Linked DNA regions of Homo sapiens: regions 2 and 3 are each linked to region 1. Evidence: promoter capture Hi-C in 16 types of primary human blood cells and fetal thymus (Javierre and others, 2016). All regions are on one chromosome and are shown on one strand. The core of a region is centred on a gene start or on the middle of the fragment in contact, and the rest is flanking DNA. Distances in the headings are between cores, read along the strand shown. Region 1 holds the start of ZNF700 (zinc finger protein 700). Region 2 has its middle 2.8 kb from the start of ZNF136. Region 3 overlaps ZNF625-ZNF20 (ZNF625-ZNF20 readthrough (NMD candidate)).

What was found. The method cuts DNA at HindIII sites, captures the fragments that hold promoters and counts their contacts. A CHiCAGO score of 5 or more calls a contact.
Region 2: a contact is called between a fragment that was not itself captured here and the fragment with the promoter of ZNF700 in region 1, in 2 of 17 cell types (neutrophils and naive CD8 T cells). The highest score is 7.9, in neutrophils.
Region 3: a contact is called between a fragment that was not itself captured here and the fragment with the promoter of ZNF700 in region 1, in 17 of 17 cell types (total CD8 T cells, naive CD8 T cells, non-activated CD4 T cells and 14 more). The highest score is 23.8, in total CD8 T cells.

Annotation. Positions count from the first base shown.
Region 1 is chr19:11,922,110-11,926,984 of GRCh38, reverse strand. It overlaps ZNF700 (zinc finger protein 700), which reads right to left and starts at 1,878. Exons shown (of 4, transcript NM_144566.3): 1 at 1,712-1,878. The coding sequence starts at 1,774. It also overlaps a transcript of ZNF69 not described here. RefSeq lists a silencer at 1,416-1,615 and enhancers at 2,006-2,115, 2,166-2,215, 1,663-2,235, 2,392-3,181, 3,182-3,972. The HindIII fragment of the contact is 3,475 bases long and covers 257-3,731 here.
Region 2 is chr19:12,157,906-12,162,780 of GRCh38, reverse strand. No RefSeq gene overlaps it. Among named protein-coding and RNA genes, the nearest start is that of ZNF136, 2.8 kb to the left of the region's middle. The HindIII fragment of the contact is 3,508 bases long and covers 748-4,255 here.
Region 3 is chr19:12,140,758-12,145,632 of GRCh38, reverse strand. It overlaps ZNF625-ZNF20 (ZNF625-ZNF20 readthrough (NMD candidate)), which reads left to right. Exons shown (of 8, transcript NR_037802.1): 4 at 2,918-2,992. It overlaps ZNF625 (zinc finger protein 625), which reads left to right. Exons shown (of 4, transcript NM_145233.4): 4 at 1-743. The coding sequence ends at 336. It also overlaps the pseudogene RPL17P47. Among named protein-coding and RNA genes, the nearest start is that of ZNF20, 2.8 kb to the right of the region's middle. The HindIII fragment of the contact is 3,645 bases long and covers 1,080-4,724 here.

The sequences.
Region 1 (4,875 bases), core at 629-3,128:
GGGTCTGATCAGGACCTCTTTTCCTGGTAATACAAGCAAGAACTTAACTTCCAGTTTTGGAGTACTGAGTCTATTTCCCTAGAGTCTGTGTTTTTCCCAAATGGGCCACTGCTATCCTTCCGCTTGAATAAACTCTTCCAACTGAAATCTTGACCTTTCTATTATTTCGGAGTGACAAGTCCAAATAAGGCAACTGCATCTCTGCAACCAATCAAGCATTTATCTGGTTTGTCTCCTCACGTAACTTATAAAAGCTTACCCCTAAACTGGTAAACTAAAAATAAAAACATACCTCTGGCCCGGCGAGATGGCTCACATCTGTAATCCCAGCACTTTGGGAGGCTGAGGTGGGTGGATCACTTGAGGTCAGGAGTTCGAGACCAGCCTGGCCAACATGGTGAAACCCCATCTCTACTAAAAATACAAAAATTAGGAGGGCATAGTGGTGCATGCCTGCAATCCCAGCTACTCAGGAGGCTGAGGCAGGAGAATCACTTGAACCCGGAAGGTGGAGGTTGCAGTGAGCCGAGATCAGGCCATTGCACTCCAGTCTGGGCGACAGGAGACTCCGTCTCAAATAAAAACAAAGTACCTTTCCAGCTAAGTGAAGTGACCGGCTCTTGGCCAACAGGACCCGCAAAAAACCCTGAAAATTGAGTGCCTCTGTATGACAGGATGGGAGGTGAGACAGGTCTCCTTATACCCTCTCCCACACATTCATGTAAAAATAGATAGAATGGAAAAACAGACTGCTTGTGGCAAGAAGATACTAACTTACAAACAAAACCTAAGGCCACGCAAGGCAAAAGTAAAGTCACGCCTCAGAATTCATAAAATCTAGAGAAACAGGTCTGTTTTCTGGCTGGGATGGAATCAAGTGGCAGATAACAGACCCCCTTCCTTCCTACCTCCTCCAAACTTTAGACAAACTTCACACTCTCAACCAGCTGCCACCTACAGAATCCCTCAACCACCTGTGCCTTCTAACCCCCCTTCCACAGGTCCCACCCTTTCTGCCAATGGAACTTACACCTTTCAGGCACTGATTCATCATTTTCCCTGCAATTCCTGTCTCTCTGAAATGAATAAAACCAAACTGTCTTGAGCCGCCTCGGGACCACTTACTCCAGGCTGCTTGGGGTTGTGTTTCCCTCGGCCAAGGTCTCTCCTATTCGGCTCTGAATAAACTTCTTTATTTTACATAGTTTGGCTTTTTCCGTTGACAAACCACAACCCAGGACGGGGTGTTTCTCATTCGTGAATCGCTGTTTGCTCAAATGAACTCTTTAATTGTTAACGTACCTCAGTTTAATTTTTAACAGGAGAAAGTGGGGACTGGGGGCCCCACAGACCACTGCTCCTCCCACGCACGAACCCCACACCCGAGTCAGGATGCCTCCATGACCCTCCCGTTGCTTCCGCACAATCTGGGGAGACGCGGGGCTGCGGGAGCGGAACTGCCCAGAGAGGGCTCCGGGGCAGGGGCCGCGGCCGCAGTCGCCGCGCAGGGACGGGACAGGACGCCCGGGTCCTGGCTGCTGGCCCAGCCCCGTCCAGCGGCCAAGGGGACCGAGGGCCGAACTGCTCAAGGAGGACTCGGTCCCAGACCCCGGAGTCGCCCACAGGGAGGCCCGGGTCCCGCCACAGCCGGTTCCCGCCTGTTCCAGGCAGCCCCTCCCCCGTCTCACGACATCTGGTCCCGCACACGCACCATTTCCCGGCTTTCAGATGTACCGGGGTCCTCTCTACAGCTCCTGTGACTACAGCAGGGCATAGCGCAGGCGACAGAGCGACAGAAGCCTGGGTACAGGCACCAGGTCCCTCTCGGGCTGGTCTGACCGGTTACCAACCGCCGCCCGCGCAGCGAGGAAGGTGAGGAAAGCGACCCCCTCCATTTCCGGATGAACTGTGGGCAGTGCCACGCCCCAGCACCTCTGATTGGATGAAATACTAGGTCCCGCCCCCCACATCTGAGTGACAGCTGAAGCCCTGGGTATCAGGCCCCGCAGAGCCAGACTGACGGATTCTAGCCACAGCTTCTCTAAGGGCGAGCTGCTTTCTGCACTCTGGTTATTGGATATTTGCATTTCAGCCAAACTTGCTATTGATAGAAGAGAACACTAGCGTCATCCTCACTCAAGGGACAGTCCCCGCTCCTTCGTTCTGCACGGGGTCACAGGAGTGTGCAGGGAATTTCAGACTCAGTGTCCATAGGAGCCAACTGCTGGCCTCAGAGCAGCAGGGGAACCGAGACCAGGCCAGGCACGACTGCACCAGGAGGAGAGGCATATGTCCTCGAGCGGGCCGGAATTGGGGATGAGGCGTGGCCAAGCCTTGCTCACACACCCCCATCCCCTTGTGAAAATGCTTCCTCCTTTCAGATCTTCATTTTCACCAGCAGGAAACTCTCACCAGGTTTTGTTTCTGACCTAAGTAAACTGTCAACTTCATGAACCCTTTATCCAGGTGACGCCACCAAACAATTCTGTCTCTAGCTCTAGCCTGATCTTCACACATTTTCTTTTCTTTCTTTCTTTTTTTTTTTTTTTTTTTGAGACGGAGTCTTGCTCTGTAGCCCAGGCTGGAGTGCAGTGGTGCGATCTCGACTCACTGCAAGCTCCGCCTCCCGAGTTCACGCCATTCTCTTACCTCGGCCTCCGGAGTAGCTGGGATTAAAGGCGCCCGCCACCACGCCCGGCTAATATTTTGTATTTTCAGTGGAGACGGGGTTTCACCGTGTTAGCCAGGATGGTCTCGATCTTCTGACCTCTTGATCCGCCCGCCTCGGCCCCGCAAAGTGCTGGGATTACAGGCGTGAGCCACCGCGCCCGGCCACACATTTTCTTTATCTATACAAATAACTCTGACCCCAACGACCCCATGCATGTCAAACCCCAAACCCTGCCCAGAAGACAGCTCCAGAGGTACAACACCAGAAAGGACAGAGACGCCACAAATGCGTCTGCACATGGGTCTTCTGCTTTCCAGGGCTCTGCAGCTTCTCGGAATCCACACCCTTTCTGGAGCTGCTCTGAGCAGCTGGAGGCCACTTGTAGAAGGGGGTGGGCTGCCCGCGAAGCCCCCAGGGAAACTCTCTTTCCCTCCCTTTGCAGGCTGCAGAGACTGTCCTCAACGTGGAATCACTGGCCTTGGGCTCTGCTGCCCCCTGCAGGTTATTCAGCTACTTCTCACCCCATCGATTAGTTTCGCGAGACAAACACCTTCAATCCCATTGTGTAAATAAGACACCAGCAGAGTCCCTGCTCTCCTCCTATGCTTATGTATAAAGTGGGGGAGGAAAAATCTAAGATAACTTAAGGGCATTTGAAAGACTTCCAGATCGCGGTGGAGGTGGCAGCTGAGGGACTCGCAGTCAATGACACTGCAGCACCTCCAGGCCAGGCTGGTGGGAGAGAGGGTGGAGAGCTGGAGATGGATGTGGATAGGTGGAGGGAGCTGCCCTGGGAACTGGGCTCTGCAGCAGTGCGGCTCTAGGGCCCGGAGCCCGGGAGAGCAGAGATGGGGGCTCCCAGGACAGGAAACTCAGGGAGGAGAGAGTCGGGTGGCTTCCATGGGACGGGGTGCTGTTGCAGCTTGTGTGAGCCAGTAGCTATCATAACTAAGCCCAATCGGGACGTGAAAACTTGGATTCCGTGGGAATTTATGAAGAGGAAGGCTCTGATGACAAAGAAGTCATCGATGAGGAGGGGGATGAGGGTCACTGGCAAGCTTGCTTCCTTATGGAAAGAAAAGTGAACACCCAACTACTGCTGCAAAATGGGATCAAAGGATGAGACTCTCGCTGTCAGGGAATAAACTGCTGCAGAACTCTTAGAGATTGCAAAGACCTTTCAACAACAGCCTGGGAGGCCAGGTGCCATGGCTCATGCCTGCAATCCCAACATTTTGGGAGGCCAAAGTGGCAGGATCACTTGAAGCCCGAAGTTGAAGACCACCCTGAGCAGTGAAGTGAGACACTCCCATCTCCATAAATCTATTTTTTAATTAGCCAGGAGAGGTGGTGTGTACCTGTAATCACAGCTACTCAGGAGGCTGAGGCAGGAGGATCACTTGAGCCCCAAAGTTTGAGGCTGCTGTGAGCTGTGATCAGGTTACTGAACTTCAGCAAGACACTGTCTCAAAAAAAAAAAAAATCAAAAACAAAAAAACCCATAAAAAGCCCACCAGACTCCCCGGGGAAACCCTGACCCCCTTGGATGGTCTAATTGTAAAACACAGCAGGTGGTATTTCCTTATGGACTGGATCATTCTGGCCACATAAGAGGCTTGGCCTACTGAGGATTTACCAGGCGGATGACCTCCTTGCAGTCAATGGAAAAGGCCCCTGGTGAAACCATCCCTTTAAACTTTATCAAATTCATCAGGGAGGATGGGAGGAGAAAACTTAAACCAAGCTGCAGAACCTTCAGCATTAATCATTAAGTCAGCTTGTTCCCTGAACTTCCTCATATTTGCTTCATACCTAGTGTCCTAGAATCCCATTGTTGTGGTAAACTGAGGAAGGAGAGACCAATATGGAGTACAGGAGGATTTGTTTATATTTTAGGTACGCACTGGCTCAGACGATTCATATCCAAAAAGCTGAGGACTGAACGAAGACAAAGTGGGGTTTTTATACGCTGTCTTACAGATGCCAAACAAAAGCAGTTAATCATACAGTGACAGGTCATGTAATCTATAGCATAACATAATTTATGACCTTGCATAGCCAGTGTCCTTGTAGCTGCATTGAAAGAAAAACAAGAACTGGCTAAATACAGACATTTGTAAAACATAATAATGCTTAAGAAGACTTGCAAAAGAGTAACAGTAAAAGAATCTGTCTCTTTTTTTTTTTTCCTTCAACATTGCTCT
Region 2 (4,875 bases), core at 1,252-3,751, 240 kb before region 1:
TTTTAGCAGAACTTAATCCGGGTTTACCAAAGGAGATACTTCCTGTACTCAGTGGGTCATTTCTTCATCTACCTCTTGCATGAGGAGTCACAGGTGTGCGCAGGGAGTTCCAGGCAGGACTGGAACAGAAGAAAGGGCGTGATATTCCCAGGGATCGGAAATTTGGGATGAGGATATGGGAAGCGTGCCCAAGGCTTTCTCATACCATACCTCTTTATCTCTCTCTATTTTTTACTTTATTTACTTATTTATTACTTTATTTACTTATTTATTACTTTATTTATTTATTTGAGACAGGGTCTAGCTCTGCCACCCAGGTTAGAGTGCAATGGCATGATCATAGCTCACTGCAGCCTCCATCTCCTGGGTTCAAGCGAACCTTCCGCTTCAGTCCCCTGAGTAGTAGAGACTACAGGTACATGCCACCAAGCCCGGCAAATTCTTTAATTTTTTGTAGAGACGGGATTTCGTTTGTTGTCCAGGCTGGTCTTGAACTCCTAGCCTCAAGTGAACCTCCCACTTTCGCCTCCCAAATCAATCTACTCATTTTCACCCAAGAAAATAAAAAACTGCCAACAAGTGAATAAAATTATTAAATACATGGAAAAACAAGTTCTATTTCCGTAATCTGTAAAGAAATCAAAAGGGAAGTAAAGCGAAAATTTGAACTAGCTCAGATAAGCAGGGCACTTCAGAACATTTAAAAAGGAAAAGATGAATTCAGAAGGTAGAACATATTCCCAAGCTTAAGAGTCAGTGACTGCTGAAGTGGAGCCACAGAGTACATTAGACCCTGATGATGAGGCAGGAAACCTAAGGATTTAACTCTGGGAGCTCAACATGCCCTCCTGTCACAGCATCACAATGTGGGAACGCTCCCTCCTTCAATACCTTAATAATTTACACCAGCAGAAAACTCTCACCTGTGGTCAATTTAGGCCCCTTGAAATTCCAACCTCTCTAGCTCATAAACCATTTCTCTGGAACGCTACCTAAATGAGTCTCTAAATATGATCTTTACATATTTTCTTCATATATACAAATTACAGCCTGACTGCAGCAACTCTATACATAGAAAAATCAAGGCCGGGCACAGTGGTTCATGCCTGTAATCCCCAACACTTTGAGAGGCCGAGGCGGGCGGATCACTTGAGGTCAGGAGTTCAAAACCAGCCTGGCCAAGATGGCGAAACCCCGTCTCTACTAAAATTACAAAAATTAGCCGGGCGCCTATAATCCCAGCTTCTGGGGAGGCTGAGGCACAAGAATCGCTTGAACCCGGGAGGTAGAGGTTCCAGTGAGCCGAGATCGCGCCACTGCACTCCAGCCTGGGTGACAGAGCAAGACTCCGTCTCAAAAAACAAAAAGTTTTCCGGAAAACTACCTTGGGAAACTAGAGGTACAACCTCAGAAAGGAGAGAAACCCGCACGTGCATTTGCCTGTGAAGTTCCTGCTTTCCAGGGCTCTGCAGCTTCTCAGAATCCACACTCCTGGAGCTGGAGCTGGAGCTGTTCGGAGCAGCTGGAGACTACCTACAGGGGAAGGCAGGCTGCCCAGGAAGCAATCGGGGGAGCTCCCTTTCCCTCCCTTTGCAGGCTCCAGATTAGTCTCAGTGTGGATCACCGGCCTCAGGCTATGCTGCCCCCTGCAAGTTTTCCACCTGCTTTTCACCCACATTGTTCAGTTCCACGAGGCAAACACCCTCAATCCCAGTGTTCGAAAGAGAATCCAGCAGAGTCCCTGCTTTCCTCCTGTGTTTACCGTAAAGTAGAAGAGAAAAATTTCAAGACAGTTTTAAGTGGATTTTAAAACTGGCAAATAATTATTCCTTTGATAAAATGAAGAAGCCAGCAAACTATTATTTCGACATTAACAAACTGTTATATAAAACCACTAATGAAGGTCGGGCGCGGTGGCTCACGCCTGTAATCTCAGCACTTTGGGAGGGCGAGGCGGGCGGATCACCTAAGGTTAGGAGTTCGAGACCAGCCTGACCAACATGGAGAAACCTCGTCTCTAAAAGTACAAAATTAGCCAGGCGTGGTGGCGCGTGCCTGTAATCCCAGCTACTCAGGAGGCTGAGGCAGGAGAATCGCTTGAACCTGGGAGGCGGAAGTTGCCGTGAGCTGAGATCACACCATTGCACTCCAGCCTGGGCAACAAGAGCAACACGGTGAAACTCTGTCTCTACTAAAATACAAAAAATTAGCTGGGCGTGGCAGTGTGCGCCTGTAGTCCCAGCTACTCGGGAGGCTGAGACAGGAGAATTGCTTGAACCCCAGAGGCAGAGGTTGCAGTGAGTTGAGATCGCGCCACTGCACTCCAGCCTGGGCGACAGAGCGAGACTCCGTCTCCAAAAAAAAAAAAAAAAACTAATGAAATATGGACTCTCTTCTGCTTCAGCAGCTCCCTGACCTTCACAGTTGATGGTTGTCACCAGGTGCTCTGTGTCAGGAGATGTACATGTGCAGTTTAGCCATTGAAAATTCTCTCTTAAATCGGGCGCGGTGGCTGCGCTAGGGGGACTCCAGTCCACCGGTCCCGAAGTCGCCCCGGACAGGCCTGGGTCCCGTCACAGCAGGTTCCTGTCCAGCACCTTGCTCCACAGTCTCGGGACATCCCCCCAGCACTCACCATTTCCTGGCTTCTGAGGTGTCTATGGTTCTCCTTATGTCTTTCGTGTTCATTGCAAGTCACAGCTGGAAAGAAGCTGCAGCGAAGCCACCTCTGGTGCTTCTCAGAGCAGCATAGACCTGACACCCACTGTGGGCGGGTGAAAGGAACGCCTCGCAGTTTTATGGAGCTTCGCGGCCTCCTCCCAGAGCCGCGCCTGATTGGACAATTTGCACAGCCACACCCCCCCGCCCCTCCTGATTGGACAGTGCCACGGGCCCCGCCTTCTGGGAGGCGGAGTGAGAGGAGAATTTAACACCTGGCTGAGTGGAGCTTGAATGAAAGGTTCTAGGCCCGACATGTGGCTCACACCTATACAATCCCAGGACTCGGGGAGGGCTGGAAAGGAGAACTGCTTGAGGCCAGGAGTTCAAGACCAGCTTGAGCAACGTAGTGAGACCTCATCTCTAAAAAAAAAAGAAAAAAAAAAAAAATTAGCCCAGCCTGGTGGCCCTGCAACTATAGTCCCAGCTACTTAGCAGGCTGAGTAAAGAGGATTGCTTGAACCTTGAAGGTAGAGGCTGCAGTTAGCTATGATCAGCGCACTGCACTCCAGCCTAGGTGACAGAGTAACACCCTGTCTCGAAAAAAAAAAAAAAGAAAAGAAAAGAAAAGAAAAATATAGATTCTAGCCACAGCCGGATTTCCTCCTTGCACTGCAGCCTGGCCCCCACCCTGGGGATACTGGTATTTCAGAATATGTTTCAGGCTTTCCAGAGCTGACACTGTTGTCTTCCTGTACTCAGTGGGCCCTTCTTTCAGGGGAGGTGGGGGTGGGGGGAGGGGGTTTGAGGTGGGGAGGTTGTCTGCCTTGAGGTCTAGTCAGGCCAACACTGGAAGAGGAGAGAGGCCTGATGTCGTCAGAGATTATAAATTTGGGATGAGGGATAGCCAAAGATTTTTCATACTTTATCTCTCAGTCTACTCATTTTCACTCAAGAAAACAACAAGCCAACAACAGAATAAAACTAAGTGCATGGAAAAGCTGGAATTATATGGCAGCTATATATATACACATATATATACATATATGTGTATATATATACTTATATATGTGTTTGTATATATACACATATATGTGTATATATACAAACACATATATAAGTGTGTGTGTGTATATATATATATATATATATATATATATATATATATATATGTTTTTTTTTTTTTGAAACGGAGTCTCGCTCTGTCGCCCAGCTGGAGTTCAGTGGCACAATCTCAGTTCACTGCAACCTCCATCTCCCGGGTTCAAGCGATTCTCCTGCCTCGGCCTCCTGAGTAGCTGGGATTACAGGCGTGTGCCACCACGCCCGGCTAATTTTTGTATTTTTAGTAGAGACGGGGTTTCACCATGTTGGTCAGGCTGGTCTCGAACTCCTGACTTCGTGATCCGCCCGCCTCGGCCTCCCAAAGTGCTGGGATTACAGGCGTGAGCCACCGCGCCCAGCCGGCAGCAATATTTTATAAAGGAATCAAAAGAAAAGTAAAGCAAACATTTGAAGTAGTTCAGATAAGCAGCCTGCTTCATGCACAGTTCACAAGGAAAACCCTCTGTCAGAAGGTAAATGATATTTCCAAGCTTGGAAGCCAAACTGTGACTGCTGAAATGGAGCCCCCCAGGGCGGGTCAGTCCCAGATGATGAGGCAGAGAAAATTAAGGATTTATCTGGGAGTTTGAAATGCCCTTCTGTCCCCTCCTCAGTTTAGAAATTATTCTCTCCTTTAAGACCTTCATTTTCACCAACAGGAAGCTCTCGACTTGAGTCAGTTTAAGCTAAATTTACTGTTAAATTCATAAACCCGCAGGGCGCGGTGGCTCACGCCTGTAATCCCAGCACTTTGGGAAGCCGAGGCGGACGGATCACGAGGTCAGGAGATCGAGACAATCCTGGCTAACACGGTGAAACCCCGTCTCTACTAAAAATACAAAAAATTAGCCGGGCGTGGTGGCAGGCGCCTGTAGTCCCAGCTACTTGGGAGGTTGAGGCAGGAGAATGGCATGAACCCGGGCGGGAGGCGGAGCTTGCAGTGAGCCGAGATTGCGCCACTGCACTCCAGCCCGGACGACAGAGCGAGACTCCGTCTCAAAAAAAATGATAATAAATACAATAAAATAAAATAATAAATAAAAATTCATAAACCCTTTCTCCAGGAGGCATCCCAAATGGGTCTTGCTCTAATTCTGACCTTCACAGATTTTC
Region 3 (4,875 bases), core at 1,653-4,152, 220 kb before region 1:
CTCCATGCACATAAAATAACTCACACTGGGGAGAAGCCGTATGAATGTAAACAGTGTGGGAAAGCCTTTGTTTCTTTCAATTCCGTTCGATATCATGAAAGAACTCACACTGGAGAGAAGCCCTATGAATGTAAGCAATGTGGGAAAGCCTTCAGATCTGCCTCGCACCTTCGAACACATGGAAGGACTCACACTGGAGAGAAACCCTATGAATGTAAACAATGTGGTAAAGCCTTTGGATGTGCCTCGAGCGTTAAAATCCATGAAAGGACTCACACTGGAGAAAAACCCTGTAGCTCCAACACTTCGAAAGGCCAAGGCGAGAAGATTGCTTAATTCACATAAGATTCCTAGAAGCCACCGAATCCAATCATGGTAAAAATGTGTTTCCCTCAAATCATGGGAACCATCGCAAAATTATTCTGAAGCTTCTGCAGTCACTGTCATTTGACAGCATTCAGAAATAAATGCCAGTAGCCCAGGAGCAAAAATTTTTGGGAGTAGTTTAGCTGGGGCCTCACTCAGATACCTAGGACACAGAGTTGGAAATAACTCTTAAGAGAGACACACCTCCAGTAAGACCTTAAGACAGTTCTGTCATAAAAAAAATACGAGGTTTGGCCGGGTGCAGTGGCTCATGCCTATAATCCCAGCACTTTGGGAGGCCGAGGCAGGCGGACCACGAGGTCAGTAGTTCGAGACCAGCCTGGTCAATATGGTGAAACCCCATCTCTACTAAAAAATACAAAAATTAGCCAGGTGTGGTGGCGCCTGTAGTCCCAGCTACTCAGGAGGCTGAGGCAGGAGAATTGCTTGAATACAGGAGGTGGAGGTTGCAGTGAGCTAAGATTGCGCCACTGCACTCCAGCCTGGGTGACAGAGTGAGACTCCGTCTCAAAATAATAATAATAATAATAAGGTTAGCCCAGCAAAGTGGCAGGTATATATATACAGGAAGGTCAGAAAAATCTTTTCCCTCCTATTGAAAGCCCAATACCTAAGTGGCAAGCCCTCATTTTAAGAAACTCACTAAAGGGATAACGGAAGTGCCATTGTCAGACTCACTGCCTCAGAAAGCTTTATCAAAACAAAAGGCTAAAGTTCCTATTCAAAAATATCCTATAATAAATGGCTGGCTATCGGGTACACTACGTATTTTATGCCATTCGTTCTCACGAGTTTTCTTTTTTTTTTTTTTTGAGACAGAGTCGGGCTCTGTCTCCCAGGCTGGAGTGCAGTTGCACATTCTCAGCCCACTGCAACCTCTGCCTCCTGGGTTCAAGCGATTCTTCTGCCTCAGTCTCCCGAGTAGCTGGCTTTACAGGCATGAGCCACCATGCCCAGCCTCTAAACTCTTTTTTTTTTTTTTTTTTTTTTTTTTTTTTTTTTTTGAGACAGAGTCTCACTCTGTTGCCCAGGCTGGAGTGTGTTGGTGTGAGCTCGGCTCAGTGCAACTTCCACCTCCTGGCTTCCCGGGTAGCTGGGATTACGGGCACCCACCACCACGCTAGGCTAATTTTTTATATTTTTAGTAGAGACAGGATTTCACCATGTTGGTCAGACTGGTCTTAAACTCCTGACCTCAAGTGACCCACACCAGTGTCTCCCAAAGTGCTGGGATTACAGGTGTGAGCCACTGCACCCGGCCTTCTAATCTTTTTCCAGCCTTCAAATTTTTTTTTTTTTTTTTTTTGATACAGAGTCTTGCTCCAGGTTGGAGTGCAGTGGTGTGCTGTCGGCTCACTGCAGCCTCCAACTCCCAGGTTCAAGCGATTCTCCTTTCTCAGCCTCCTGAGTAGCTGGGACTATAGGCGTGTGCCCCCACACCCAGCTAATTTTTGTATTTTTAGTAGAGACAGGGTTTCACCATGTTGACCAGGCTGGTCTCGAACTTCTGACCTCAGGTGATCCACCTGCCTTGGCCTCCCAAAGTGCTGGGATTACAGGCGTTAGCCACTGCGCCCGGCCATTTTTGTATTTTTAGTAGAGACGGGTTTCTCCATGTTGGCCAAGCTGGTCTTGAACTCCTGACCTCAAGTGACCCACCTGCCTCAGCCTCCCAAAATGCTGGGCTTACAGGTGTGAGCTACTGCGCCAGGCCTAATATCTTTTTTTTTTTTTGAGACAGAGTCTTGTTCTGTGGCCAGGCTGGAGTGCAGTGGTGCAATCTTGGCTCACTGCAACCTCCGCCTCCCAGGTTCAAGAGATTCTCCTGCCTCAGCCTCCTGAGTAGCTGGGACTACAGGCATGCGCCACCACGCCCAGCTAATTTTTGTATTTTTAGTAGAGATGGGGTTTCACCATGTTGGCCAGGATGGTCTCAATCTCTTGACCTCATGATCTGCCACCTTGGGCTCCCAAAGTGCTGGGATTATAGGCACCACGCCTGGCCCTAATCTCTTCTCAAAGTACTTTTTTCTTTAATGAATGTCTTAAATAAAAACTTTTTTCTAACCACAAACTTTTTTTTAAATTATTTTATTATGTAATTTTTTTTTAGAGAGTTGGTCTTGCTGTTTGGACCCGGCTGGAGTGCAGTGATATTCACAAGTGTGATCTTAGTGCATGAGAGCTTCATATTCCTGGGCTCACAATCCTTCTACCTCAGCCTGCCAAGTAGCTGTCACTACAGGTACCAGCTGCTGTGCCTGGCTTCCACCTTTTTTTTTTTTTTTTCTTTAATCAGTTCCTTTTAAAGACCAAAGAAAACCTGTCCTCTTGTGTGGCCTGAGTTGATCTATGAACATTATTCACTATGACCCAGAAAATCCCACGAAGTCGTGCATGTTAGAAGGATGAAACCCTCATGTTCACTGTAAACTGTGAAGGTGCTCAGGCCATCACAGGTATGCCTATATGAAAAGCCACCAAGTATCTGAAATATTTTCTTTTACAGAAATTATGTGTACCATTTCAGTCTTAGAAAGTGGAGTTGGTCGCTGTACGCAAGACAGACATTGGGGCTGGACTCACCATCAGTGGCCCCGAAAAGGTACTGAAATTTGCTTACAAGTGCAGAGTTATGCTGAACTTAAGGGTATAGATGTAGATTCCCTGGTTATTGAGCACATCCAGGGAAAAGGCACCCATAATGTACCACCTGACTTACAGAACTCATGGGCAGATGAACCCATCCACAAACTCCCCTGCCACATCCAGATGATGCTTAGTGAAAAGAAACACCTTGTTCCAAAAGCAGAAAAGGAGGATGCACGGAAGAAAAAGATACCCCAGAAGAAACATAAACTTAAGAGACAAACAAATTCAGCCAAAAGAAAATGCAAATAAAAGTTCAAAACAAAACAAAACAAAAAAACCTCTAAAATTCATAAAACACAAAATGACAAACTCTATTAAATATGCCCCTATGATATCTCTTAGATAAAAGTTGGCCGTAATAGAGAAAATGAAGATAGGTGTTGGTGACTGGCAGATTCTGGGTCTACGATGAATCAGAGAAGGATGGTTTTCACTTTGTTTTACATTTTTTTAATGCTTGATGTTGACTTGGTAGAAAGATGATAATAAAGAGATTCTTCTGTCTATGTGTTTCTTTTAGATTACTCATGTGGACTGAAGAAAAAAAATTAAATTTGTTAAAGAAAGTGAGTTTGATTTAGGATTGTGACTGAGGACAATAGCCTGGAAGCAGTTCTGACAGATGGCTGCTATGTAATATTTTGGTTCACAGTTTATAAGAGACATGTGGGCCCTGTGCTCTATCTTGTTTTTTCTTCAAAGCATAATTCTGGAGAGCTGGAGAGTCCCAGAGTCAGGAATGTTATAAAGTCAGGCTGGAAACCAGAAATAAGTAACATGACTAAACATTTGTGTGTTTTTTTGTTTTGTTTTGAGACAGAGTCTCGCTCTATTGCCCAGGCTGTAGTGCAGTGGTGCAATCTCGGCTCTCTGCAACCTCAGCCTCTTTGATACAAACGATTCTTCTGCCTCAGTCTCCCGAGTAGCTGGGATTACAGGTGGGCTCTACCACACCCGGCTAATTTTTGTATTTTTAGTAGAGACGGGATTTCACCATGTTGGTCACGCTGGTCTCCAACTCCTGATCTCAGGTGATCCAGCCACCTCGCCCTCCCAAAGTGCTGGGATTACAGGCTTGAGCCACAGCGCCCAGCCACTACTGCCTCACTTTCATGCAGTTAAATAATCTTGGACACTTCCTCCTCGACTTTATACATACACACTGGAGGAGAGCTTTGCTCGTGTGTTATTCTCGCAGTGGGATTGAGGATGTTTGTCTCATGGAAACTGATGAATGATGTGAGAAGCAGGTGAATAACCTGCAGGGGGCAGCAGAGACCGACGCCAGGGACGGGACGCTGAGGCTAGTATGGATCCTGCCAAGGAGTGAAGTGGAGTTCTGGGTGCTTCCTGGGCAGCCGCCCTCCCCTGCAGGTGGCTTGCAGCTGCTCAGAGCAGATCCAGAAAGAGTGTGGGTTCTGACATGCTGCAGCGCCCTGGAAAGCAGGAGACCCACGTGCAGGTGCACTTCAGGAGTTCTGTCCTTTCTGCGGCTGTACATCTGGAATCTGGGGCGGTTTTCGGGAGCAGTGTTTTGGGTTTGACATGCATAGAGTCCCTGGGGTCAGACTGTAATTTGCATATCTGAAGAAAATCCGTAAAGATCAAGTTCAGGGAAATAACTGTTTGGGACCTCTCCTGGAGAAGGGGCTTATGCAGTTGACAGTTTATTTAGGTCAGAAGCTTAAAATCACCAAGTGAGAGTTTTCTGCCGATGAAGATGAAGGTCTGGAAGGAGGGAGAGTTTCCACACTGTGAGGTGGGGTGAGATGTGTGAAAGCCTTGGCCATGTCTCATCCCTAATTCCGGGCCCCTGAAGGACAACTGCCTCTCCTT